2 separate regions of the Homo sapiens genome follow, and region 1 is linked to region 2. Evidence: promoter capture Hi-C in human tissues and cell types (Jung and others, 2019). All regions are on one chromosome and are shown on one strand. The core of a region is centred on a gene start or on the middle of the fragment in contact, and the rest is flanking DNA. Distances in the headings are between cores, read along the strand shown.

Region 1 (5,793 bases), core at 275-2,774, 880 kb before region 2:
ACCATTTCACGAAAATTCAGCAAACGTTTTCTAGTTAGCTAGTCCCAAATCTTTTGCTGTTAAAGTTAACCCTGAAAATTTCTGTACCAGCCAAATGAATGTGTGCATGTAACCTTGTAAATGATTTGAAAATGAATCATGCAATAATCTTGATCTGTATTTGGTTCATCCTTTTCTTAAAAAAAAGAAAGAAACCAAGTGCACCACAGAAATGTCATTTGCACAGTCTTCAGTTGGAATACATAAGGATAGAGATTGTTTGCATTTCACAGCGAAGGAACTGAAGATTAGAGTGGTAAAGGTCAGTTCAGAGTTAGGGCTGGGATTTTCCTGACCACCAGCATTATCTCTCTTCTCTCATGAGGAGAGGAGAAGGTAACTCTGCGATGGCTCTATTTACCATCTTGAGATTTTTTCCTGAGCTTTTTTTGAGAACCTTACTATCACACTCCTCAGGAAAGCATTACAGTCCACTCTCTTCAGGGATATGTTTTCCAGTTTGTAGATCATTTAGGCCCATTTTCTTTTCTTTCATTCCTTTGGAATTTTTCTTTTTCCTTTCAACTGGACCCTTACCTTTAAGAAGACAGAAGCTGAAAGAGGTAAACTTTATGCATAAGACTTAGCTCTTGTTCCAAATAGTTAAAACACATGAAGGAAAAGAGGAAATGAAATATTTTCTTATGGTTTTATTTTTATTACTTCCTGAATTTTGGTATGCTCTTATTTCATAGTAACTGAGTTGGCTGTGCATCTGGCTATGTCTCACACCACAATGTTTGTTGACTGTAGTGTCGGTGGTGTGCCCCAGCTGTTCTGTAAATAGCTGCAGCTTACTGGGCAAGGTTTTTGGATGAGAATGTCCAAATTTATCCCAGGCATGTGACCACCAACCAAAAACATTGGCCTTCTCAATGCCATCAGCCTCTTTTAAAAGTATCTAGTCAATGTAGATGCTTAAACCAATCGGTGATTGACTTGATGTAAAATATGACAGGACTCCTTTTATTATTGAATGAAGTATAACTCAACAGAATTTTGAACTTAAAGAATTTAATTAACTTGCCTATCTTAAAAGAAACTTTCTAAAGATACCTTTGTCACAAAAACATTAAACAGTTGTATAAAGAAATTAATCACAAAAATGTAATTCATATGCTAACTTCAGCAGCACATACACTAAAATTGGAATGATACAGAGATCAGCATGGTCCTTGTGCAAGGATGGCACACAAATGCATGAAGAGTTCCATATTTTTTATTCTTACTAAAATCAATTCATTTGTAATAAAGAAATTAAAATGCATTATTTAATTTAATTCCTCTATCATATGCTTTGAAGTAATGATCCCAGAACATTCTTAAGATATTTTAAAATGTATTTTTCATATAATGGTAATTTGTTTGAAAGTATAATGGAGCAAGACAAGATGATGCTCTTAGTGTGTACTAAAAGAAAAGGTCTATTATAATATTGTTATTAAATCTTATTTTGTTATTAAATTTGTTATTTGTTATTAAAATCTTATTTTGTATATATTCTTATCGGTCTGTGTTTTTTAAAAATTAGTGTTTTGAGAACATTTAAAAATTTTATTCTTGATAAGTTGCCAGAGCCTTCAAAGATGGCAAAAATTGTCTTGATATTTAGGGCCTATTTTATCAAATACATTAAAGCCACTAAAGATAGAATGCCATATGTTGTGTAACTGTTCAGTTTATGGATTTTTTAAAATGTCATTTTAAATTTCAAAGTTATTATTTAAGTTTAAAACTTTAGTTTTTAGCAAGAACTGAAGCAGTATCAGTATTATAAGAGTGGATAATATTCTTTTCGGCCTATGTATATAGATAGGACCAGTGCCAGTGAAACAAAATTTTGTAGTAAGTGCAGTTTACCCTCTCCAGTTTCTTTCATCTTTTCTCTTTTAGTATTAACCCCTTTCCCCTCTTCTTGAACCCTTCCTGTGAGGTGAAGGACTGTGGCTTATTCATTTTTGAATCTCCAGTGTGCAGCACCCTGCATAGAACCTGGCAGGTACTCAATAATTATTTGGATTGAACTGAGATCTCCACGCTGACTCTTTCTCACTGAAGTTACTGTAATTTTTTCTTTGATTATCATATAGCTGATTTAATCAAATTATTATAAAATGTTTGCATTTTAATGAGCTGTCACTCCTGGGTGGATTTGAATTTTAGTTAGCAGACACCTGAAAAAGGCTTAAACCATAGAAGTGAATTACTAATGGTGAGATTTTAGGTATAAAAGAGAGGCGTGCCGCTCAGTCCTACTGAAGCAGCATTGCTCGTCTGGCGTAATACTTGAGTTTCATTGTCTCATACCAAGGAAATCAAGGACGAGGACACACAAGGAGTGAGGTTAGGAGTGGAGACTTAATAGGTGAAAGAAAGAGAAAAGCTCTCTCCTGCAAAAAGAGGGGTCCCAAACAGCTTTCTAGTCCATGGTGAAGTGCAGGAGGCTTTATGGATGAACTTGAGGAGGCAGTGTCTGATTTACATAGGGCATGAAAGATTGGTTGGACCAGATGTGCCATTTGCATAGCACACGAAAAACTGATTAGGCCTAGGTGTGCAATTTGCAGAGCATTCAAGAATCTGGCCACCCCCACCCTAATCTTTTATTATGCAGATGGGTTCTCTACCTGGCCAGCGCCATGTTGCCCATTTCTTTACACATGGTGACAAAGAAAAGGGAAGATGGAACATATTGAACATGCTTGGCCCCAGGTAGCCCTTTTCTTTTTCTTTTTTTTTTTTTTTGAGACAGTTTTGCTCTAGTCTCCCAGGCTAGAGTGCAATGGTGCAATTTCAGCTCACTGCAACCTCCACCTCCCAGGTTCAAGTGATTCCCCTGCCTCAGCCTCCCAAGTACCTGGGATTATAGGCGCCTGCCACCATGCCTACCTAATTTTTGTATTTTTAGTAGAGGCGGGGTTTTGCCATGTTGGTCAGGCTGGTCTCTAACTCCCGACCTTGGGTGATCTGTCCGCCTTGGCCTCCCAAAGTGCTGGGATTACAGGCGTGAGCCATTGTGCCCAGCCCAGGTAGTACTTTTCTATTGGCACAGCTGCTGGCATTCACCTGTGCAAGCTTCCAGCTTGCTTATTTATGTTTGCAGCTCAATTTTTCAGGTTGCTCTTTGTTAGAAAAGAAATGGTTTGGAGGCTGCTTTTTGTTAAAAGGGAAGCCTTGCCACGGACTCCTTTACCCTCACTATGTGCCTACATAATTTATTTCTAGCTCCTGTATCAATACCATATTAACTTTCTTAAGTGAAATTAAAACATTCTTATCTCCTCTCAACTTCAGTTCCAAAGCTGTTACAGCTACATAAAGAACTTCAAATTATCTTACTAACATTTAAAATATTTACTGTTGAATGGCATTGCTGTTGCCTGAGCAAGTTCACACTCAAGTTACACTTAGTGAGAGCTCTTTTCTGCCCGGCATGTGTGAGTTCAGCGTGGGCAAGAGACTTTTATGTGCATTCAGTCCTTTCAGAAATGAGACGATGCCAACCACAGACGCAGCATGTCCTGGATGACTGATCTGTAAAATATAATAAAAGCTTATTGTTTGAGTAGAAAATAAAATAAAATAATTTACTGTTGTAGCTGGGGATATTTTGAAAAGAATAAAATCAAAATGCCACTTATCAAGAAATGGCAAGAACAAGATTCCCTTGCCCTTAAGAAATTGTCAGCTATTTTTATTGCTTTTTTGTTAATGCATTTTCAACCTGTCCTTAGTTATCAGTAGCAAATTTCATCACCATCTTTTAATTTTTTTATTCAATTTATACCAGTAATGTCTACTTTTACAATTAATAAAAGCAGCCAGTAAATCCGGATGATATCCCACCAGTCCGTTGTTTATAAAGAGATAGCCACTTAGAACAAACTAGATGGTAGAAAATTAGGTTATAATTCTATATTTCCTATAAGCTCTTCAGAGTGTTTCCAGATTGCTTAAACTTTGAAAGCAACAAAGCTCCGAAAGGGACAAATGGAACAAAAAGAGAAGACTTGCTCAGACATTCAGAGTGGGGGACATTGATGGCATTATGAGTCTCACCAGAAACTTTTATGTTCTTCATATCCTGTGACCTCTTTATGGAAGAATTAAACTACAAAAGAACCAGGGCTGTAAACACAGCATTTTTGAATCCCCTATGCCGGGACAGCCAAAAGAAAAAAAAAGAGAGCATTGATGAGATGTTCTTACCGTGCTGCTACTGCTTCAGCTCATTACTTTGATTTTGGTGTTCATGAGTCATGAGTCTAGAACACCCATTTTTAATAAATATTGAAACTGTATTGGTTTATACATAGTATTATTTACACAATTGAGTAATTACTAGGGGTCATTATACTTTGAAAAGTATAGCTTTTGCTCTTTATGTTGGCATTCACAATCTTGATCATTTTTCTTTTGATGTGTCGGCCTGCAACACTGGGGGAAAGAGAGAGCTGCAGAAATACCCATTTTGTGAATTATACAAAATTATAAACATGCGTCTCGCTAGCCTTTATTTAAGCAATGAATTTAAATTAATCATTCTACTCAAAAATGCCTTATAGGTACTAAGTCTCTGCATTAAGCACCATTAACAAATGCATTACTCTATGTATCTTGTATAGCGGGTGCTTTGATTCCTTCTTGATATATATTTAAGTCCCAGTAATTTGGTGGTATACTGTAGTTTACATCCTGCTTGTCAGATACAAATTCTTCCATGCTGTAACTGTAGATTTACCTTTCTATTCTTGAGACAATTCTGATATTGCTACCAAACAAATTTACAGTGCATTTTTTGTAACTCAGTAAAGGTAGTGATTTACTGTGTTTAAGACCAATTATTTCAGTGAATGTGTATATGCGTGAGTGTTTTTGTGAGTGTGTTAAATGTAGGTCTGTGTCACCATTTATGTGTCTTGGTACAGATACTTTTTTATATAGTTTTTTCAACCTTAGAAACCACAAAATTAAGAAAGAAGTGTTACCCTGTGATGAAAAAATAGGCTCAACTACAAAATACCATCAACTGGAACAAACTGAGTTTTGGAATAATTGATTTGGCATCTCCTGGAATATTATATAATTTGCTAGTTAAATTTTCACCAAAATAAAAAACCCTTCCCTTATTTTGCAGCTCTTTCTCTGCTCTCCCCTGTGTTGCAGGTTTGTAATGTTTGAGCACAATTCCTGGGTGAAATTCGTATTTGCCTCTGTGCGTGTTATTTGTGGCAGAGAACTGTGCCTGGTCAGCAGCTCTAGACCTGGAGCCCGTGGACACTATATGCGGGGCTTCAGTGGAAAGAGAGATCTGCTTAATTTTGTCCCAGGTGAAGGAGTCCAGCGGTTCCTATCCTGGACTACGGGAAGGTTCCCACATCTCTTTGTCCCATTAGTTGAGATGACTTGCAGTAGAAATTGTCCAGTGAGTGTTAAGAACTTATTGAAAGATGTCTTAGTTTTCTAGTTTTGTTGTTAGGCAAAAAGTGAGAATTTTTACTTCCATGTTAAATGTTAAATGAAAATGAATGCTGATTTAATATTTACATTCTTAAATGCTTAGCAAATCAGAATTGACAGTTAGTTTTGAAGCCTTTCCTATAAATCCTGGGATTTTGGAACTGTGAAGTTGGGTTGGTAAAAACTCAAAGTCTTAAAATTCCTAGGTGACAGAGCCATAAATTACAAGCCTAAATAACTAAACTTCTACTTATGAAATTTTAACTCTTTTACTGTGGCCAATAATAAACCATT
Region 2 (5,423 bases), core at 178-2,677:
GCTATCCAAAAAAAAGTTGTAGATATTCTGAATTCAAAGAATTCTATAATGGGGTTCACTTTTGTGAGGCTGCCACTATCCCTTCATCCCCTATAACAACGTATGGCTGCTTAAGTAAGAGGGACAATCGAGTTTGAACTATTTGTGAACTTTGATTTTTTTGTGTGATCTTTCTGGCTCTTAAATATGAAAGTTGACTATTGTCACACAACAAAGTCCCTTCCCAAGCACTGGAGTGTCTTGCGCAAAACCCAAATCCAATGTCTGTCAAAAATGAGTTGGAAAAAAATGCATGCAATACCATTATTAAGCTCTTACTGGACACAAGCCCTAGTTAGGTCTTTTCTTCCAGTAACCAATCTCTAGAATTTTTTCAAGTCACTAGTTAGCATATACTGAATACCCATTTATATAGGCTACAAAACCAAATGTTACATAGGTAATCTTTAGGCTAAATGATTTGCTATTTATTCACTTGAATAAAGATAAAATTCCTAAAGTACAACATATATTTTTTATTTTCAAACTCTAATAGGTCAAGTGAAAAATGATTATTCAAATATACTCTTCTTTCTTGTGGAAACAATCCCTTTAATACGATAACAATTTTTTCTGGCGCTTGATTGAAGCTGTCCTTGAACAGACAAAATTTCCCCTGTCTTCCAGAAATCGTGCTTAGTTCAAACTAAAATGTGATGTAGCGCAATTTCTCAGCTGGAAGCAGAACGATTGGTCTTTTCAGGATCCTTTAAGATAGGAATCTACATTTGCATCCTCTATCTAGTTTTTGTTTTTTAGGACAAAGTCTGGCCTTTTCGTCCAGGCTGGAGTGCAGTGGCGCGATCTTCACTCACTGTAGCCTCCACCTCCTGGACTCAAGCAATTCCCGTGCCTCAGTCTCTCGAGTAGCTGGAACTACAGGCACACGCCACTACGCCTGGCTAATTAAAAAAAAAAAAAAAGAGACCGGGGGTCTCCCTATGTTGTTCAGGCTGATCTCGAACTCCTGGGGTCAAGCGATCCTCCCGCCAGGGCTTCTCAAAGTGCCAGGATCACAGGCGAGAGCCGCCGCGCCCAGCGGCACCCCCTATCTAGTGATAAGCAACCTTCAACTATGAAAGAAGCATCTGGCCTGTGGACACTGTCGGTTATCCTTGGAACTTATCCAATTTAGGAAAACAAGTGAGCAACTAACCCTCCAAGGCCGGCTCACGACACCGGGAGAAAGTGGTGTAAAAGACAATCGCGGCCACACACCGCGTGGGGGCTGCGCAAAGCAGAACTAGGAAGCTTTGCTCCGGTCTGGACTTCGTCCCTCCCAGATCTCTGAGCTAGCAAGCACTGCAGCCCGAGCCAATTGCGAAAGACCAACAAAGCCCAGCCCAGCGGAAGGAACGGTTTCGGAGTTGTTTTTCTTTGATACGGGAGTTCCTCCTTGCTCTCGCCCCTACTCTTTCTGGTGTTAGATCGAGCTACCCTCTAAAAGCAGTTTAGAGTGGTAAAAAAAAAAAAAAACACACCAAACGCTCGCAGCCACAAAAGGGATGAAATTTCTTCTGGACATCCTCCTGCTTCTCCCGTTACTGATCGTCTGCTCCCTAGAGTCCTTCGTGAAGCTTTTTATTCCTAAGAGGAGAAAATCAGTCACCGGCGAAATCGTGCTGATTACAGGAGCTGGGCATGGAATTGGGAGACTGACTGCCTATGAATTTGCTAAACTTAAAAGCAAGCTGGTTCTCTGGGATATAAATAAGGTAACAGTGTTTACTATGTTTTACTTTCTGGTACCTTTAATTTGTGGATGTGTCTGCATTTTGCTGGCAACCACCCTTTACCTCATCTCTGCAAAGCAGGGAGGAAAAAAAAATTAGTATTGCCATTTTGCAGATGGGAGGGCATGAATTAATATGTTGTATGATCACATGATAAACAGACCTAGAGGTTATAATAGTCCCAGTTACTGCCCCATTTGTAAATTGATCCCCATTTTTGCCCTAAGGATAACTCATAATTTTTTCCTGAACCTGATTTCATTGATCCCTCTATTTTAAAAATAGGGAAAAAACAATCGTTTTAGCTATATATTAAAAGAGTAAGAAGCTTGTACCTATTAAGAGAAAGTCCTACTTACTGTTAATGAGAAAAGTGGTTTGAAAGATTATACTCGCCGTTGGCTCACGCCTGTAATCCCAGCACTTTGGGAGTCCAAGGCAGGCGGATCGCGAGGTCAGGAGATCGAGACCATCCTAACACACTGAAACCCCGTCTCTACTAAAAATACCAAAAAAAAATTAGCCGGGCGTGGTGGCGGGCGTCTGTAGTCCCAGCTATTGGGGAGGCTGAGGCAGGAGAATGGCGGGAACCCCGCGGGGCGGAGGTTGCAGTGAGCCAAGATGGCGCCACTGCACTTCAGCCTGGGCGACAGAGCTAGACTCCGTCTCAAAAAACAAACAAAAAGATTATACTCAACAGAAACCAATGCTACATTGCCATAGTTATTGCCAAGAGTAATTTTAAAAAGCATCTTTTCCGGGAGGCTGAGGTGGGGGGTTGCTTGAGCCTGGGAGGTGGAGACTGCAGTGAGCTGTAAACGCCCCACTGCACTCCAGCCTGGGTGACAGAGTGAGACCCTGTCTCAAATTTTTTTAAAAAACATTTTTTACCACGTTTGACCTGTGATACTGAAGGAGTGGCGGGAAAGCATCTTTTAGTAAAAACAATAAAAGGGAAAAAAACTTTCAGTGTAATTTTTTACCTAGGACAAGTGTAGGTGTGGCTTAGGGAGGAGAAGAGGACCTAGAATCCAACCTTTTATTTGACCTTTGGTAGATGAACAAAGGGGTTTCTAGAAGATACCTGATGGCCTGAAACATTATCCATTACACACTAGTTGACATGCAATGCTGTAAACAATAATTCAAAGGATGTGAAGTTAAATGAGGGTTAACCCAGTGAGTGGCTGATGAAGACAGCAATCAACAAATAATGACTGTCTGCTGCTTAGACATTAGGGATAGGGTGACAAACAGAAAATAAGGTTCCATGACCTCAGTCTAGTAGGGAAAATGGACATTAAGTAATTACAAGTGCAGGCTGGATGCGGTGGCTCACACTTGTAATCCCAGCACTTTTGGAGGCCGAGGCGGGCAGATGACCTGAGGTCAGGAGTTCAAGACCAGCCTGGCTAACATGGTGAAACCCCATTTCTACCAAAAATACAAAAAATTAGTTGAGCGTGGTGGCGTGTACTTGTAATCCCAGCTACTCATGAGGCTGAGGCAGGAGAACTGCTTGAACCTGGGAGGCAGAGGTTGCAGTGAGCCGAGATCATGCCATTGCATTCCAGCTTGGGCAACAAGAGCAAAACTCTGTCTTAAAAATAAATAAATTAATTAAATTAAATTAATAAATAAAAAAGTAATTACAAGAGCAATGAAAAATACAACCCAGGTCCAGCCTGGACCAGCATGGTCAAGGTCTGGCATGGTGATATAGTCAGACACATCTGAGCTTTCGTTTTCTGATTGGGTAACTTACTCAACGTTTCCACAGCTTTAGTTCCTTTTCTGCAAAATGGATAAAATAACAATACATACCTCAAAAAGCTGTCAGTATGATATGAGATAATGCATACAAAGCATTTAGCACAGTGTGGTATAAGGTAAACACACTGCAGTGTTCTTATTATTCCTTGACAAAGTGTGGTTTAAGCTAAAATTTAAATGTATGTAAGAGTTAGTTAGGTTAATGACTTCCAATGTCCAGTGCTGGTTTGTACAAAATTTTCTCTGATCTTCAGTGACATGCATTTATCCAACAAATATTTATTGAGCACCTATTATCTGTTAGGCACTGTTCTAATGCAGAACTGAGGATATAGCACTGAGGAAGACATGAGCCTCATGAGCTAGGGGCAGTATGCCACACTGTATAATAAAATGTATAATTGTTAGATGGTGTTAAGCATAAAGAAAAAAATAAAAGGTGAAAGTAGATAAAAGACTCTATATGGTGGGGAGGGTAGGAGGGGAGTGTTGACTTTACAGTGGTGGCCAGGAAGGCCCCACTGAGATGGAGATAATTGAATCAATATCAGAAGAAGCTGAGAGCACAGTGAGTCCTGCAGGGAGGGATCAGCAAATGCAAAGCCTGGCATAGACTGAGGGAAGGGAGAGAAGCACAAGAAAGGTCTAGATCTACTCTGTGCAACACAGTGGTAGGTAGTAGCCCCTAGCCTCTTGTGGCTCTTGAGCCTTTCAAAATGTGGCCAGTCTGATTTGAGATGCACTGTGAGTGGAAATACATGCTGGATTTTGCAGACTTAGTATGAAGAAAAGAATGTAGAATTTTGTGTTAATAATTTTTATATAGTATACATGTTGAAATGATAATTACTTAGATATGTTGGGTTAAATAAAATATGCCACTAGATTGTTTTTTTTTTTTTTGGTGTGACTACTAGAAAGATTAAAATTATATACATGGCTTGCGTTATATTTCTATGAGACAGTACCGGTGTAGAGATTTAAAGGGCTGGAGCTACAGATGATAAAATTTCCTGTATTTTGGCTTTTTACTCTGGGGAGTCAATGAAGGGTTTTGAGGGTAATTCCTATTGAAGAGGATCCTCCAGCTGCTGGGCTTAGGAGAGATGTAAGAGGAGAAAAGATGGAAGGAACAAGTAAAGTAAGAGACTACTGTGATAATCCAGGCATGAGATGAAATGATGGGGACTATTGAACCGGGTTGGCAGTAGCAGAGATTCGGAGTAATGGTCAGAAAAATTGAGGACAATGTAGTGAGTTTTTATTAGGTTAAATTAGTTTAATTTAAATAATCTATATTTTATTTTGAGATTATATCCTTCCTACTTTTTGTGGGTAAAAAATATATTTGTTAATGAAATTACATGATAACATATGAGGGTCATTTTGTTAGTTTTGAGTGTCCTTATTTGGCCAAAAGTTTGGCAATCCTAGTTCGGTATACACATCCCACTCTATTTTTCTTGCCGTTTTATAGATTTGAAATTATAGAAGGCTGAGAACCACTAAACCTGATTGGGAAAGGACAGGGTGGGGATTTGGAGCAGTCCAGGTAGCAGAAACTGGAGATGTGAAGCTCTTGGGCTGGTGAATACCTGGAGAATGAGGAAGAAAGTGGAGTGGTGTTTGATTGTTATGAGATCTAGCTGGCAGGGCAGGGAGGGGCCAAACGGAGGGCCCTTTCACCTAGAGTACAAAGACAATCTCTTAGATTCATCCATGTAATGAGGACAGCAGTGTCCACATGTACCATATGTTAATTTAGGGAAGAATTAATGGTGGTGTCAGCTTTGTTGTTCCACTAAGCCTGATAATGGGAATTATTCATTCTGCTTTGTGATAATCTATCACTTCTTGACTATTCTCATTCCCATGCTT

What was found. The method cuts DNA at HindIII sites, captures the fragments that hold promoters and counts their contacts. A contact is called where the count stands out against the background at its distance.
Region 1: a fragment that was not itself captured here is called in contact with the fragment with the promoter of HSD17B11 in region 2 in 1 of the 25 tissues and cell types used here (hippocampus).

The regions. Positions count from the first base shown.
Region 1 is chr4:88,270,671-88,276,463 of GRCh38, reverse strand. All of the region lies in intron 3 of PPM1K (protein phosphatase, Mg2+/Mn2+ dependent 1K), which reads left to right. It also overlaps the pseudogene RNU6-112P. Among named protein-coding and RNA genes, the nearest start is that of PPM1K, 11 kb to the left of the region's middle. The HindIII fragment of the contact is 6,866 bases long and covers 1-4,957 here.
Region 2 is chr4:87,387,192-87,392,614 of GRCh38, reverse strand. HSD17B11 (hydroxysteroid 17-beta dehydrogenase 11) reads left to right here and starts at 1,427. Exons shown (of 7, transcript NM_016245.5): 1 at 1,427-1,754. The coding sequence starts at 1,545. RefSeq lists enhancers at 560-1,132, 1,146-1,215. The HindIII fragment of the contact is 3,840 bases long and covers 1-1,453 here.